5 separate regions of the Homo sapiens genome follow, and regions 1, 2, 3 and 4 are each linked to region 5. Evidence: promoter capture Hi-C in 16 types of primary human blood cells and fetal thymus (Javierre and others, 2016). All regions are on one chromosome and are shown on one strand. Each heading gives the region's core, a stretch centred on a gene start or on the middle of the fragment in contact. The rest is flanking DNA. Distances are from core to core; before and after follow the strand shown.

Region 1 (2,819 bases), core at 61-2,560, 320 kb before region 5:
CTGTATGGAGCCCTTTGTGCAGTAAGGAGCTGCTGCTGGGCCCAGGCGGCAGGTCCCGGGGGCTTCCCTTATCTTCAGTGCTGTCCTGAAAACTTAGTTGTTCAAGGCTACTTTTTTTTAAATCAGAATCTCGCTCTGTCACCAGGCTGGAGTGCAGTGGCACGATCTTGGCTCACTGCAACCTCTGCCTCCTGGGTTCAAGCGATTCTCCTGTCTCAGCCTCCCGAGTAGCTGGGACTACAGGCGCACACCACGATGCGTAGCTAATTTTTTATTTTTAGTAGAGACAGGGTTTCACCATATTGGTCAGGCTGGTCTCAAACTCCTGACCTCAGGTGATCCACCCGCCTCGGCCTCCTAAAGTGCTGGGATTACAGGCGTGAGCCACCGTGCCCAGCTGGCTACTTTCTATAGTTATACTGTCCATGAGGGTAGCCATCAGCCAGGTCAGGTTCTTAAGCACGTGGAATGCACCTTGTTAAACTTGACTTGTGCTAAAAGTGTAAAATGCACACTGGATTTTGATAATTTAGTACCACAGATTTTTTTGGTGCACTCACTTCAGTGGCTGTCACCTGTAATCCCAACACTTTGGGAGGCCAAGGCGGGCGGATCATGAGGTCAAGTTCGAGACCACCCTGGCCAGCATGGCGAAAGCCCGTCTCTACTAAAAATACAAAAATTAGCCGGGCATGGTGGCGCACACCTGTAATCCCAGCTACTCGGGAGGCTGAGGCAGGAGAATCACTTGAACCCGGGAGGCAGCGGGTGCAGTGAGCCAAGATCATGCCACTGCACTCCAGCCTGGGTGACAGAGCGAGACTCCATCTCAAAAAAAGAAAAAAATACCGATTATGGCCAGGCACAGTAGCTCATGCCTGTAATCCCAGCACTTGGGGAGGCTGAACTGGGCAGATCACTTGAGCCCAGGAGTTCAAGACCAGCCTGGGCAGCATGGCAAAACCCCATCTTTACAAAAAATTAGCCAGGCTTGGTGGTGTACACCTGTAGTTCCAGCTACTAGGGAGGCTGAGGTGAGAGGATCATCTGAGCCTGGGAGGTCAGGGCTGCAGTGAGCTGTGATTGCACCACTGCACTCCATCGTGGGCAATAGAGTGAGACCTTGTCTCAAAGAAAAAAAAATACTGATTACATGTTAAAAAGATAATATAGGCCCAGTGTGGTGGCTCACACCTGTAATCCCAGCACTTTGGGAGGCCGAGGTGGGTGGATCACGAGGTGAAGAGATCAAGACCATCCTGGCCAACATAGCGAAACCCCCTCTCTACTAAAAATACAGAAATTAGCTGGGTGTGGTGGCGCACGCCTGTAGTCCCAGCCACTCAAGAGGCTGAGGCAGGAGAATCGCTTGAACGCGGGAGGTGGAGGTTGCAGTGAGCCGAGATCGCACCACTGCACTCCAGCCTGGCAACAGAGCTAGACTCTGTCTCCAAAAAAAAAAAAAAAAAAAAAAAAAATATATATATATATATGGTTAAATAACATTATTAAAGATATTAAGATTTTTTCTCAAAAAATACTGATTATATGTTAAAAAGTTCATATATATTGGGTTAAATATGATATTAAAATTGGCACCATCTGTTTCTTTTTATGTGCTACTAGCAAATTTTGCCCACACTTGTGGCTGGCATATTTCTATTAGTGCTGTTGAGTAATGAGTACGTTTGTACTGTGTTGAGTTTAACACTTTATTAGATACTCTTTTTTTTTTTTTTTTTTTTTTTTTTGAGATGGAATCTCGCTCTGTCGCCCAGGCTGGAGTGCAGTGGCGTGATCTCAGCTCACTACAAGCTCCGCCTCCCGGGTTCACGCCATTCTCCTGCCTCAGCCTCTGGATATTACTCTTTATGTCCTCTTTCATCTGTGGAACTCATTTATTTTATTTTATTTTTTTGAGAAGGAGTCTCACTCAGCTGCCCAGGCTGGAGTGCAGTGGTGCAATCTCGGCTCACCGCAACCACCATCTTCCAGATTCAAGTGATTCTCCAGTCTCAGCCTCCTGAGTAGCTGGGATTACAGGCACCCGCCATCATGCCCAGCTAATTTTTGTATTTTAGTAGAGACAGGGTTTCACCATGTTGGCCAGGCTGGTCTTGAACTCCTGACCTCAGGTGATCCGCCCGTCTTGGCCTCCCAAAGTGCTGGGATTACAGGCGTGAACCACAGCACCTGGCCCATCTGTGGAACTCTTATCTCACTGTCACTTCACAATCATTGGAACAGGAAAGACTGTATTTATAATTACTGATTTCAGTTTGCTCACCTAAATCCTAGATGCTATTTTTTAGTGTGTGTGTGTGTGTGTGTGTGTGTGTGTGTGTGTGTGCGCGCGCGCGCGCGCGTGCTGGGGTGAAGGAGTCCTGAATTCACATTGTCTGTCTTTGGCCTCTGGCAATCTGCCTTCTGATTTCACTACTCAATTAAACCAGTCTATCTTGACATCTTTAATGCGTTTTTACTTTTATTACCCTCCGTGCTACGTTTGATAATATTTCAAATTTTTCTCCTTAAGATAGAATTGCTGCACTTAACTCCCAGATCCATTTGGACAAGTAGATTCAATTGTTTTATTTGTAAAGGGAATAAGGGTGTCCAGCTTGGTCAAAGGAGTTTGAGGAGTACATGCATGTTCTGGACTTACACACCGAGTGATTGATGCCTCGAAGAAAGCGAATGGCAAAGGATTAAGACAGTAGTGGATGAGATGAATCGGGGGGGAGAAGTGTTTCTGTTTGGGTTGTTTTATTATTATTATTATTTTTTTTTTTTTTTTTTTTTTTGAGGCAGAGTTTCGC
Region 2 (2,856 bases), core at 137-2,636, 360 kb before region 5:
TAATTTCCAAAATGGAATAGAATGTGGTGGTGCCTATGTGAAACTGCTTTCTAAAACACCAGAACTCAACCTGGTATGTAATTCCCATTTCTGGAATGTGGCTGGACACCCACTATTACCTTGTAAGAATTTTGTAATTGGGCCGGGTGCAGTGGCTCACGCCTGTAATCCTAGCTCCCAGCACTTTGGGAAGCCAAGGCAGGCGGATCACGAGGTCAGGAGATTGAGACTATCTGGCTAACATGGTGAAACCCCATCTCTACTAAAAATACAAAAAATTAGCCAGGCGTGGTGGCAGGCGCCTGTAGTCCCAGCCACTTGGGAGGCTGAGGCAGGAGAATGGCATGAACCTGGGAGGCGGAACTTGCAGTGAGCCGAGATTGCGCCACTGCACTCCAGCCTGGGCGACAGAGCGAGACTCCATCTCAAAAAAAAAAAAAAGAGAATTTTGTAATAATTGTGAAAATAAAGGCTTCCTCCCCTGCTGTTTAACTCTTTTGATGAGTTGGGAAAATTGACTTTGACGCTAACGTGCTTTTTATTTGAAGTGTAAATTACAAAGTTGTTACCAACTGTTTTTATCTGAATTTCTGGTTTTGCTTCTGTGTAAGTTTTAGTTTTGGCAAGCTTATTTCTTTGTTTTATGAGGAAGCAATAACTGTCTAGATGTGTGCATTACTTTTTTTTAGACACTTAAACGTTATTTTAAATTTACTGATGATTGCTGGTTATTCCTTTTTACTAAACAAACTTGTAGTTAGCTTTTCCTTTAACTGTCACTAATATATTTGGAATTTTATAAGAGGAATTATCATACACTTTTGAAACGTTGCTTTTGAACACTTTGAGTACAGTGACTTCAAATAATCCTTTTTTGTTTTTGAAGGATCAGTTCCATGACAAGACCCCTTATACGATTATGTTTGGTCCAGATAAATGTGGAGAGGACTATAAACTGCACTTCATCTTCCGACACAAAAACCCCAAAACGGGTATCTATGAAGAAAAACATGCTAAGAGGCCAGATGCAGATCTGAAGACCTATTTTACTGATAAGAAAACACATCTTTACACACTAAGTAAGAAAAAGCATTAGTTTGGGGGCTTATGGTATTACATATATATCATCCATTTAATTTAAAGATTGTATATCTGGCCGGGCACTGTGGCTCACGCCTGTAATCCCAGCACTTTGGGAGGCCGAGATGGGCAGATCACCTGAGATCAGGAATTCGAGAACAGTCTGGCCAAAATGTTGAAACTTCACCTCTACTAAAAATACAAATATTAGCTAGGCATGGTGGTGCACGCCTGTAACCGAAGCTAGTTGGGAGGCTGAGGCAGGAGAATTGCTTGAACCTGGGAGGGAGCCAAGATCATTGTGCCACAGCATTCCAGCCTGGGCGAAAGTGAGACTCAATCTCAAAAAAAAAAAAAAAGGCTGGGCGCGGTGGCTCACACCTGTAATCCCAGCACTTTGGGAGGCCGAGGCGGGTGGATCACAAGGTCAGGAGATCGAGACCATCCTGGCTAACATGGTGAAACCCCGTCTCTACTAAAAATACAAAAATATTAGCCGGGCGTGGTGGTGGGCACCTGTAGTCGCAGCTACTTGGGAGGCTGAGGCAGGAGAATGGCACGAACCCGGGAGGCAGAGCTTGCAGTGAGCCGAGATCGCGCCACTGCACTCCAGCCTAGGAGACAGAGCAAGACTCCATCTCAAAAAAAAAAAAAAAAGATTGTATATCTGGAGAGTACCCCAGCCTCCAAACAAGAAGAATCTCAGCCTGGTATGGTTGCTCATGCGTGTAATCCCAGCACTTTGGGAGGCTGAGGCGGGCGGATCACTTGAGATCAGGCATTCGAGACTAGCATGGCCAACATGGTAAAACCCCGTCTCTACTAAAAATACAAAAATTAGCTGGGCGTGGTGTTGAGTAGCTGGTGTAATCCTAGCTACTCGGGAGGCTGAGGCAGCAGAATTACGTTAACCCAGGAGGCAGAGGTTGCAGTTGAGTCAAGATTGTATCACTGCACTCCAGCCTGGGTGGCAGAGGAAGATTCTGTACCCCCTCCACGAAAGAAAAGAATCTCTTCACTTTAGTATCTTAGTTGGGAAATGACCTTAATTTGTCAGCATTAAAAGAAGCTTCTTGGCCACGTATGGTGGCCCACACCTGTAATCCTAACACTTCGGGAGGCTGAATCGGATGGATTGCTTGAGTCCAGGAGTTCCAAACCAGCCTGACAACATAGTCAGACCCTGTCTCTACAAAATCTTAAGAATTAACTGAGTATAGTGGCATGTGCCTGTAGTTTCAGCTACTCAGGAGGCTGAGGTATGAGGATTGCTTGAGCCCAGGAAGTCGAGACTGTAGTGAGCCATGATCTTGCCACTGCACTGTAGCCTGGGTGACAAAGTGAGATGCTGTCTCAAAAAACAAAACAAAAAACCCAAAAAACTTCTTTTCCACAGGAACTGAGGTTCGAGATAATTTTAAGAATAGAATAGGTGTTTTTGGCCAGGCATGGTGGCTCGTGCCTATAATCCCAGCACTTTGGGTGGCCGAGGTGGGCGGATCACCTGAGGTCAGGAGTTTAAGACCAGCCTGGCCAACATGGTGAAGCCCCATCTCTACTAAAAATACAAAAATTAGCCGGGCATGGTGGAGGGTGCCTGTAATCCCAGCTACTCAGGAGGCTGAGGCAGGAGAATTGCTTGAACCCTGGAAGCGGAGGTTGCAGTGAGCCAGATTGTGACACTGCACTCCAGCCTGGGCGACAGGAAGACTCTGTCTCAAAAAAAAAAAAAAAAAAATTGGTATTTTTTGCTGGACATGGTGGCTCATGCCTGTA
Region 3 (2,764 bases), core at 174-2,673, 340 kb before region 5:
ACAGAATGTAGTGCTCCTAGTTACTATTTTTTCTATTAAGAAATAGTTTAGTTCTGGTGTAAAATTTGTTTGAATGCTAAAAAAAAAAAAGCAGGACTGCATTATGGCACTTTTGCCTTGGTGGCCCACTTTCTCCATTTAAAACATTAGGATTTGTATTTTTCTGCTGCGTTTGTATGAAGACATATTTGATTGTTGTTTTCTCTTGATTTTAAAATAAAACCTCATGAGCCCTAGTAAAAAGCTAGAGTAACGAATGTTTGAACTACTGATGGTGTATCTCAATGTGCAGCCTCCTGCCACCTCCTGCTTAACCTTTTAGCAATTAGAGTGCCCATATCTAGAGTTCCTGATATCCTTTGGCATCACACTATCTAGTTTTAGTACTAACACTGTTTGATTGCTCCAGTCCCTCTACTCCCCTTTGCCTATTAGTTTTAATAATGGGGCATAATTTGTCTTGGTTTGGTTTTGTTGAGTAACTCAGTTTTACCTAAAGGACTGTTTTTGGTCCGGCGCGGCGGCTCACGCCTGTAATCGCGGTACTTTGGCAGGCCGAGGTGGGCGGATCACCTGAGGTCAGGAGTGGGAGACCAGCCTGACCGACATGGAGACACCCCGTCTCTACTAAAAATACAAAATTAGCCGCGCGTGGTGGCGCATGCCTGTAATCCCAGCTACTGGAGAGGCTGAGGCAGGAGAATCGCTTGAGCCTGGAAGGCGGTGGTTGTGGTGAAACGTCGTCCTTTGCATTTCCAGTTCCCTCTAATGGAGCTGCACTCTTGCATGCTTTTGCTCACATCTTCTGGACTTTTTTTTTAAGTAGTGAGTAATACTGCACTTTTGAAACTTGCTCGGGCTTTTACAAATAGGTGGAAACTACCAGTGATTCGGAATGTTGCAAGAGGAAACTACCAGCTCACTAGACGATTCTGACCAATTATGGGGCTGGATACAAGGAATAAGGTCAAAGTAAAACGGCTGACATTAAAATAGCGTGGCTACTTAGAGTTTATCAAAGTCGAAATTTAAAAAATAATTTAAAAAAAAGGTCTCTGTACTGCCAGGCGGGCGACAGGGACTGGCCAGCTGCGCCGCACTCGCCTGCCAGATTCCCCTTTTCTCGGGGTAGCCGGAAGGGCCTGCCTTCAGCGGGTGCTGTGCAGGAAACCAATAGCCGCCTCTTGGACGGGCTCCTGTCAGTCACGCTTAGCTCCGCCCCCAGGATTAAGGCCCGCCCAGGGGCTTCCCTCCGCCCTTCGCTTGAGAATTCCTTTTAAATACCGCTCTGGCGCCCGAGCGCGCCTCTTGCGTGCTCGTCCCCACGCCCTCGGGCGGCCGGTTCTTCCTTCTCTGATTGGCCAGGGCCCCTGCTCATCAGTCGTGATGCACAAGGTCTCTTACCGAGGCCCCGCCTTCTTCCGAGAGGCCCGAAAACAATTTTAAGATGGCGGCCGCGGCGGTAGCGCGGAAAACAATGGGGCCGGGGCGGTGGGGAGAGGCCGAGGCTTGAGGTAGGCAGCAAGCGCCGGCTGGGGGTCGGGCCGAGCGGGGCAGGAGGAAAACCCGCCGCCGCGCGCGAGCCCGCTCCGCTGCCCTCGGGGGCATGGCGCGGCCGTGAGGCGGAGAGGGGTAGCCGCGGGGAGCGAAGCCCGCAGTGCCAGCCGGCCCCGAGAGGCCCGGCCCCGGGCCCGGCCCGTGCAGCCCGCGGCCCATGGTGCTGCCCACCTGCCCCATGGCGGAGTTCGCGCTGCCGCGGCACAGCGCGGTCATGGAGCGCCTTCGCCGGCGCATCGAGCTGTGCCGGCGCCACCACAGCACCTGCGAGGCCCGCTACGAGGCCGTGTCGCCCGAGCGCCTGGAGCTGGAGCGCCAACACACCTTCGCCCTGCACCAGCGCTGCATCCAGGCCAAGGCCAAGCGCGCCGGGAAGCACAGGCAGCCGCCCGCCGCCACGGCCCCGGCGCCCGCCGCCCCGGCCCCGCGCCTGGACGCCGCTGACGGCCCCGAGCACGGCCGCCCGGCCACGGTGAGTAGGGCGCGGGAAGGCGCTTGTCGTGGCGGCAGCCCCCTCTCCCGAAAACGCTTCCTCTGACGCGGATCGGGCCGCTGGGAGACTTCCCCAGGCGTCCGCGACTCCTGGATCTGGCTGGAGAGAGGGTAACATGGCAGGGAGCTGAGAGGTTGTCATCTTTGGGAAGTGGCACGGTGGCGTTACTTTGGGAAAACAGCGCCTTGAGGGCCTTGCAGGAGGCCCGACCTGGGAAGGCTGGCGAACGCTAACCGGAGGGTTTTTCTTCCAGACTTGATTCCGGGATGTTGAGATCTTTATTCGAAATAGACTAGCATTCGAGTCGCCTGTGATGGAGGGAGTTCCTGCACCGTAGGCCTGGCCTCATTTATTCTGCAAATGTTTATTGGGTCCTTGCCCTTTACAAGATCCTGTGCTGTGAGCAGGATCAGGGCTTTCATGTGGAAATAAGTCGGCCTTTGGTTGACCAACTGAAACTCCTCTGAATGGAAAATCAAGAAATTTTTGGAAAACTTAGTAAAATGTTCAATGAGTTGCATATAAGTATTCCTTGTTTAGGTAGCCTGAACTTTGTGAACTTGAGATTCCTGCAATATTGTTGACAATTCTAGTTTTAATTTATCAGGCCTGTTTAAAATCTCTGATGATGTTAGATTGTTGGTCAATTATTACTCCCTTTGGGCTCTCAGTAAATGTTCCTGAAATTTGTTGGTTAGAGGTTTTTCTTCCTGA
Region 4 (2,700 bases), core at 83-2,582, 500 kb before region 5:
CCGCTGATGTGACGGGAAGCTTGTCTGAAGATTACTGTGTGCTGAAAACCAATGAGGGCATTGCCTACCCTGCCTCTTTATCATCGATGGCAAGGGTGACTTTTGCCAGATCACTGTTAATGATTTGCCTCTGGGGTGCTCCATGGATGAGGCTCTGCAGCTGGTCCAGGCATTCCAGTACGCAGATGAGCACGGGAAAGTTTGTCCCACTGGCTGGAAGCCTGGTAGCGACAATGAAGCCCAATGTGGATGACAAGGAATACTTCTTCAAACACAACTAGGCTGGCCGATGGATAGTGAGCTTGTGCCCCTACTGGGTACCCTGTGCTAACCCAGGAAAGGCCAGACCTGCCCCTCCAATCTCCACAGTCTGGGACCCTGGAGGGCCAGGCCAAGACCTTCTGCTTCTACCTGGGTAATTTTTTACACACTTTATGTGTAAAAAATGTGTAAATTTTACACATTTTTGCCATTTGTTTTGGCATAGTGTGAAGTAGGAATCTAAATTTCTTTTACAAATAGTTAACCAGTTTTTGCAATATCATCATGTAATATATTTTTTCTACTAATTTGAAATTCCACTTTTATCATATGTGAAATATCCATAATATGCATTGGTTTATTTCTGGACTCTTCTGTTGTAAATCTGAATCTGTGTTCCTATGCCAGTGACACATTCTTTTAATGACTGGAGCCAGATAGTATATTCTAGACTCTGGTAGTTAAGCGCCTGCCTACTCTGCTGTACTTCTGTTTCAAATATTTCTGGGCCATCCATTCTGCCAGATGAACTTGAACATCGTTTTGTCAAATTCCAGAATAAAAACTCCATTGAGATTTTAATTAATTAATAGACATGAGTGAGCAATCTGGTCTAGTGCTATCTTGAATGGCAGTGCCTATAGTGTGTTCTTCAAACACACTATAGTATACATAATCATATACATAATAGTATACATAAAGTATACATGTTTGCTGCTGATGTCTGAGGGATGCGGTTTCTCACGTTTAGAGAGTGCTTTCCACTCCAGTTTACCTTGTGTTTTGTTGTTGTTGTCGTTTTGTTTTTTTCTTTTTTTTGAGATGGAGTCTTACTCTGTCGCCCAGGTTGAAGTGCAGTGGCATAATCTCCACTCACTGCAACCTCCGCCTCCTGGGTTCAAGTGATTCTCCTGCCTCAGCCTCCTGAGTAGTTGGGATTGCAGGTGCCTGCCACCATGCCCGGCTAATTTTTTGTATTTTTAGTAGAGATGGGGTTTCACTATGTTGGCCAGGCTGGTCTTGAACTCCTGACATCGTGATCTGCCCACTTTGGCCTCCCAAAGTGCTGGGATTACAGGCGTGAGCCACCGTGCCCGGCCTACTTTGTGATTTTTTAAGAGATGAATGTTGAATGTTGTCAGATACTTTTTTTGGATCTATCAACATGTCAACCTGCTTTTAACCCATAAATATAATTGAACTAATTCATAGGTTTCTTATTGAATACTATCCCTGAATTTCTAAAATAATCCCTACCTGATCATTGTAAACCCTGGATTTGATATGTTTACTGTTTGGAATTTTTGTGTCTCTGCTTGTAAGTGAAACTATTCTGAATTTTCTATACTGCCTTTGCCACCTTTCCGTGTCAGAATTGTATTAGCCTCATAAACTGGAAGGCCGGGCGTGGTGGCTCACACTCCCAGCACTTTGGGAGGCCGAAGTGGACAGATCATGAGGTCAGGAGGTTGAGACCGCCCTGACCAACATGGTGAAACCTGGTCTCTACCAAAAATACAACAATTAGCTGGGCGTGGTGGCGTGTGCCTGTAATCCCGGTTACCCAGGAGGCTGAGGCAGGAGAATCGCTGGAACCTGGGAGGCAGAGGCTGCAGTGAGCTGAGACCGTGCCACTGCACTCCACTCTGGGCAACAGAGCAAAACTCCGTCTCAAAAAAAATAAACATAAAAATAAAATAAACTGGAAAATAGCCTTCCTTTTCTTGTTTTCTACCGCAGCTTATTAGATCAGGAATTATTTTTTCTGTGCAGGCTTGCTAGAACTTACTGGTATGACCACTTCACCCTTATGCCTTTTTTGGTCTTTGTTCTTTGACCACTTTAACTTTTAGCATAGTTTTGATCAATTTATTGGTTTCCTAAGTCTTAAGACAATTTTTAAAGTCATTTATAATTTTTTTAGAAACCATTTCATTCAGCTCTACTAAGCTAGAGTTGTATGAAAGTATTCTCTTACAGCTTTTGAAAAATCTCACTGTTCTCATTTATAATGTGTATTTGCTAAATATTGATCACACTTAGTAGAAATTTGTCTACTTGGTTGAACTTTGACAAACCAGCTGTCTTATTTATCAATTCTACTTTGGGAGTAGGGCTTTATTTGCTTTCTAATCCATTGATTTTTGCTTTGGGTATTAATTCTTTCTCATCTTTCTGTTGCTTTTTCCTGGCTGTATTTTTTTATGATTTGGTTTTTTATTATAAAAGAAATGCTTGCTTGTTGAAAAAAGTTAGGCAATACCAAAGTATATAATGTGAAAAGAGAAGTTGAACCTCCTCTTCTCACCCCACCCCCCGCCCCAGCCGCAGTCCTCCTCCCTTTCCCACAGGTGATGGTAAAGATTCTGGGGAAAATTTTTCTAGAAGCTTTTCTACTTTTTCTATACATTTATGTTCACGTAGGTTTTGTTTTAAATT
Region 5 (2,754 bases), core at 75-2,574:
TTGGCATACAAATACAGACCTCAGAGGGGCATAATATGTTAGTATCTTAAGAGTGTACAAGCAAATCATGACTTTATTTAGGTTGCCTACTTTAGGTCATCCTAACATGAACAGCAGTTTAGAAAAGAAAAATCCCCTCTCAGCATTCTCAGGGTGACAATGAGGGTGGGGATAATGGCAGATATCTCCCAAAAGTTCAGCGTGGGCCAAAACCCAAAAAATCATATTCCACGATGTGCAAAAGGTTTCTTTCAAACCATGACTAATAATTTAAACAAATACATGTTTACACCAAATAATCAACTAAACAAAGTCCTTGTTCATAGGAAAACATGACATTAAGCCGAATGGTTTCAAAGACAATTCTTGAAAATTTTACCTATTTCCCTTTTGGTCGGCACCCGTGACCTGAAAAGCCTTGGCTAGTAGTTCCGATTAGTGTCAGATCCTCATAATGTGACATTTTCAGGCGTCAAATTACAGTAAAACTACTAGGGCAAGAACAAGAGCCAAAAGCAACAGGGAAGATGTCCATTTTCCATTTACACCCCCCCCCCAATTTACCACTTAAGAAAAACGGCACGTTTTTATATTAGAAAAGGGCCGCATCCTTCCAGATCTAGCGCAGCCTTAAGTCCGTGATTTGAGGAACCTGCCGCTTCCAAAATACAGGCTGAGACGTCCTCCCCATGAAGTAGTTTTGCGCTCTTGCACCACCTCCTTTGTCTACGCTGTCCCTGCAAACTCCTAGCTCAATGCCCTCCAGCAAACGAGCTGCCTGAACGCAAAGATGACCGTTCCAAGTCTTTTTTAAAAGAAGGGAAAAACCCAGTCACGCTCCTGGAGCCTGGTTCCCACGGGAGCAGGCCGGGCTGTCCACGACGGAAGCCTCGACCCTGGCTGGGGCTGTCGGCCGGGCAGCGCGGGAGAGCCAGGGCCAGAGCCGGGGCCGGGAACCCTAGTCCCGCCGCCTACGCGGGATGCAGCGACCACCGCCCGCCGCCCCCGGGCCGGCACTCACCTCCGTGGAGGGGCAGCGGCGCCAGCACCTGGCCGCGGACCTCGGCCTTGGGGGAGTCAAGCCCGTAGCGCCCGCGGTCGATGCGAAACGTGAGCGGGGCGCCGCGGCCGGGCTCCTGCACCGTCACGTTGATGAGCGCCGTGTAGTACTCCTGGCTCGCGTTGTCTGCCCGTGCCGGCCACAGGCTGCAGGTCAGCAGGGCGAGCGCGGCGAGCCGGGCAGGGCCCGCCCGCCCCGCGCAGCTCATCGTCCCTCCGGCAGCCGCCGCTGCTCGCGGACCGGGCTCCGGGGCCGGCGCCTAGAGGCGGGGCGGGCGCGGCCCGGGCGGCGGCGGGAGCGCGCGCGCGCGGCCTGCGCGGGGCCGAGCCCGAGCGCGGCCCTCCTGGACGCCGCGGCCCCGCCGCTCGCCGCCCTCACGTCCACTGCCCGCCTGTGGGGACGCGCCCATGGGCCCTCGGCGAGGGCGGCGTCTCAGGTCGCACGCGGGCGTCTCTTCGGGGTCCCAGGAGGGTTGTAGAAGCGTGCCCCCTCCATCCCCCCGGGTCGGTCCCACCGAATGGGAGGCGCCTCGCAAGGACGCGGCGGGGGAGGGGAAGGGCGGCACGGGAGGAAGCGCCCCGAGGAGGGTCAGCGGAACACAAAGTCCCTCTCGCGCGGCTGCCGCCTGAGGCGCGTGTCCGCCGCCGCCCCGCCCCCCCGCTGGTCTAGCGGCAACGCGCAGGCCTAAGGCGCAGTCCCGCCCCGAGCGCATGCGTGCCAGGGCCTGTCCGCTCCCGCCCGCCTGCACGAGGGCCCGGGCAGCCGGGTCAGCCGCTGGTGCTGGTTGTTTCTCTGTCAGGCGTGATAGCCGCAGGGCGTGGAGCCCGGGAGATTTGCGAGGACGTATGGAAATGTGTGAGAACAGACTACAAAGGAAAAAAAGCCATAACTTTAAAAGAAATGTTTAAAATTAAATGTCATGAGATTTAACATTCACGTCATGCGGTTGACATCATGGATGGGGGATGTCTCTGGCCCGGACCTGCAGGGACACGAGTGGTTGGGAAAGACCTCTAGGGTAGCCGTCCCTAACCATTTTGGCACTGGGGGACGGGTTTCCAGGAAGAGAGTTTTTCCAGGGACTGAGGGAGTTGAAGTGGTTTCCGGATGAGGCTGCTCCACCTCAGATCATCAGGCGTTAGATTCTCGTAAGAAGTGGGCAACCTAGGTCCCAAGCATGCGCAGTTCACAGCCGGGTTCACGTTGCTATGAGAGTCTAATGCCGCCCTGATCTGACAGGAGGCGGAGCTCAGGCGGTGATGCTCACTCACCTCCTGCTCGCTTACTGGTTCCTCGAAGGCCCTGGGCCGGTACAGGTCCGCGGCCGGGCGGTTGGGGAGCCCCTGCTCTAGTGACTAGGTGAACTACTCCAGGGGCCCCCGGACCAGAGGGTTGCAGTGGGAACCCCCCCTCCACCTTCCGAAACGCGCGCGCGCGCACACACACACGACTCTCATTTTCTCTCTCCATGGCGTTTAAAAGATACACATCGCTATAAAGTATCAGCTAAAAGGAAGAATGGGGCAGTGCAGCCGAATTCAGGAACTTACAGGATCTTTGTGGGGAGGCGGAGGGGGAAAGTTTGGCGTCTTCTGACCAGCCAGGGTTGAGTCTCCTGTCTCCTACTGCGGGAAGTGGGTGGAGTCAGCTTTGCACAACCAAATGTTCTGAAAATCCGGAAAAGAGGTGGCTCC

The links. The method cuts DNA at HindIII sites, captures the fragments that hold promoters and counts their contacts. A CHiCAGO score of 5 or more calls a contact.
Region 1: a contact is called between a fragment that was not itself captured here and the fragment with the promoter of RNF130 in region 5, in 1 of 17 cell types (naive B cells). The highest score is 5.1, in naive B cells.
Region 2: a contact is called between a fragment that was not itself captured here and the fragment with the promoter of RNF130 in region 5, in 2 of 17 cell types (neutrophils and total B cells). The highest score is 6.6, in neutrophils.
Region 3: a contact is called between the fragment with the promoter of MAML1 here and the fragment with the promoter of RNF130 in region 5, in 2 of 17 cell types (total B cells and total CD8 T cells). The highest score is 6.9, in total B cells.
Region 4: a contact is called between a fragment that was not itself captured here and the fragment with the promoter of RNF130 in region 5, in 1 of 17 cell types (neutrophils). The highest score is 5.3, in neutrophils.

Annotation. Positions count from the first base shown.
Region 1 is chr5:179,750,874-179,753,692 of GRCh38, forward strand. All of the region lies in intron 1 of MAML1 (mastermind like transcriptional coactivator 1), which reads left to right. Among named protein-coding and RNA genes, the nearest start is that of MAML1, 19 kb to the left of the region's middle. The HindIII fragment of the contact is 6,852 bases long and covers 1-2,819 here.
Region 2 is chr5:179,708,987-179,711,842 of GRCh38, forward strand. It overlaps CANX (calnexin), which reads left to right. Exons shown (of 15, transcript NM_001746.4): 6 at 1-73; 7 at 887-1,079. Among named protein-coding and RNA genes, the nearest start is that of CANX, 11 kb to the left of the region's middle. The HindIII fragment of the contact is 1,522 bases long and covers 626-2,147 here.
Region 3 is chr5:179,731,399-179,734,162 of GRCh38, forward strand. It overlaps MAML1 (mastermind like transcriptional coactivator 1), which reads left to right and starts at 1,424. Exons shown (of 5, transcript NM_014757.5): 1 at 1,424-2,029. The coding sequence starts at 1,715. It overlaps CANX (calnexin), which reads left to right. Exons shown (of 15, transcript NM_001746.4): 15 at 1-243. RefSeq lists enhancers at 967-1,066, 1,828-2,328 and silencers at 1,517-1,716, 1,957-2,016. The HindIII fragment of the contact is 11,025 bases long and covers 1-2,764 here.
Region 4 is chr5:179,572,461-179,575,160 of GRCh38, forward strand. All of the region lies in intron 5 of RUFY1 (RUN and FYVE domain containing 1), which reads left to right. The region is part of intron 4 of LOC128966623 (a long non-coding RNA gene); the gene reads left to right. It also overlaps the pseudogene PRDX2P3. Among named protein-coding and RNA genes, the nearest start is that of RUFY1, 23 kb to the left of the region's middle. The HindIII fragment of the contact is 2,630 bases long and covers 18-2,647 here.
Region 5 is chr5:180,070,435-180,073,188 of GRCh38, forward strand. It overlaps RNF130 (ring finger protein 130), which reads right to left and starts at 1,325. Exons shown (of 9, transcript NM_018434.6): 1 at 1,022-1,325. The coding sequence starts at 1,268. RefSeq lists an enhancer at 999-1,706 and a silencer at 1,596-1,675. The HindIII fragment of the contact is 6,319 bases long and covers 1-2,754 here.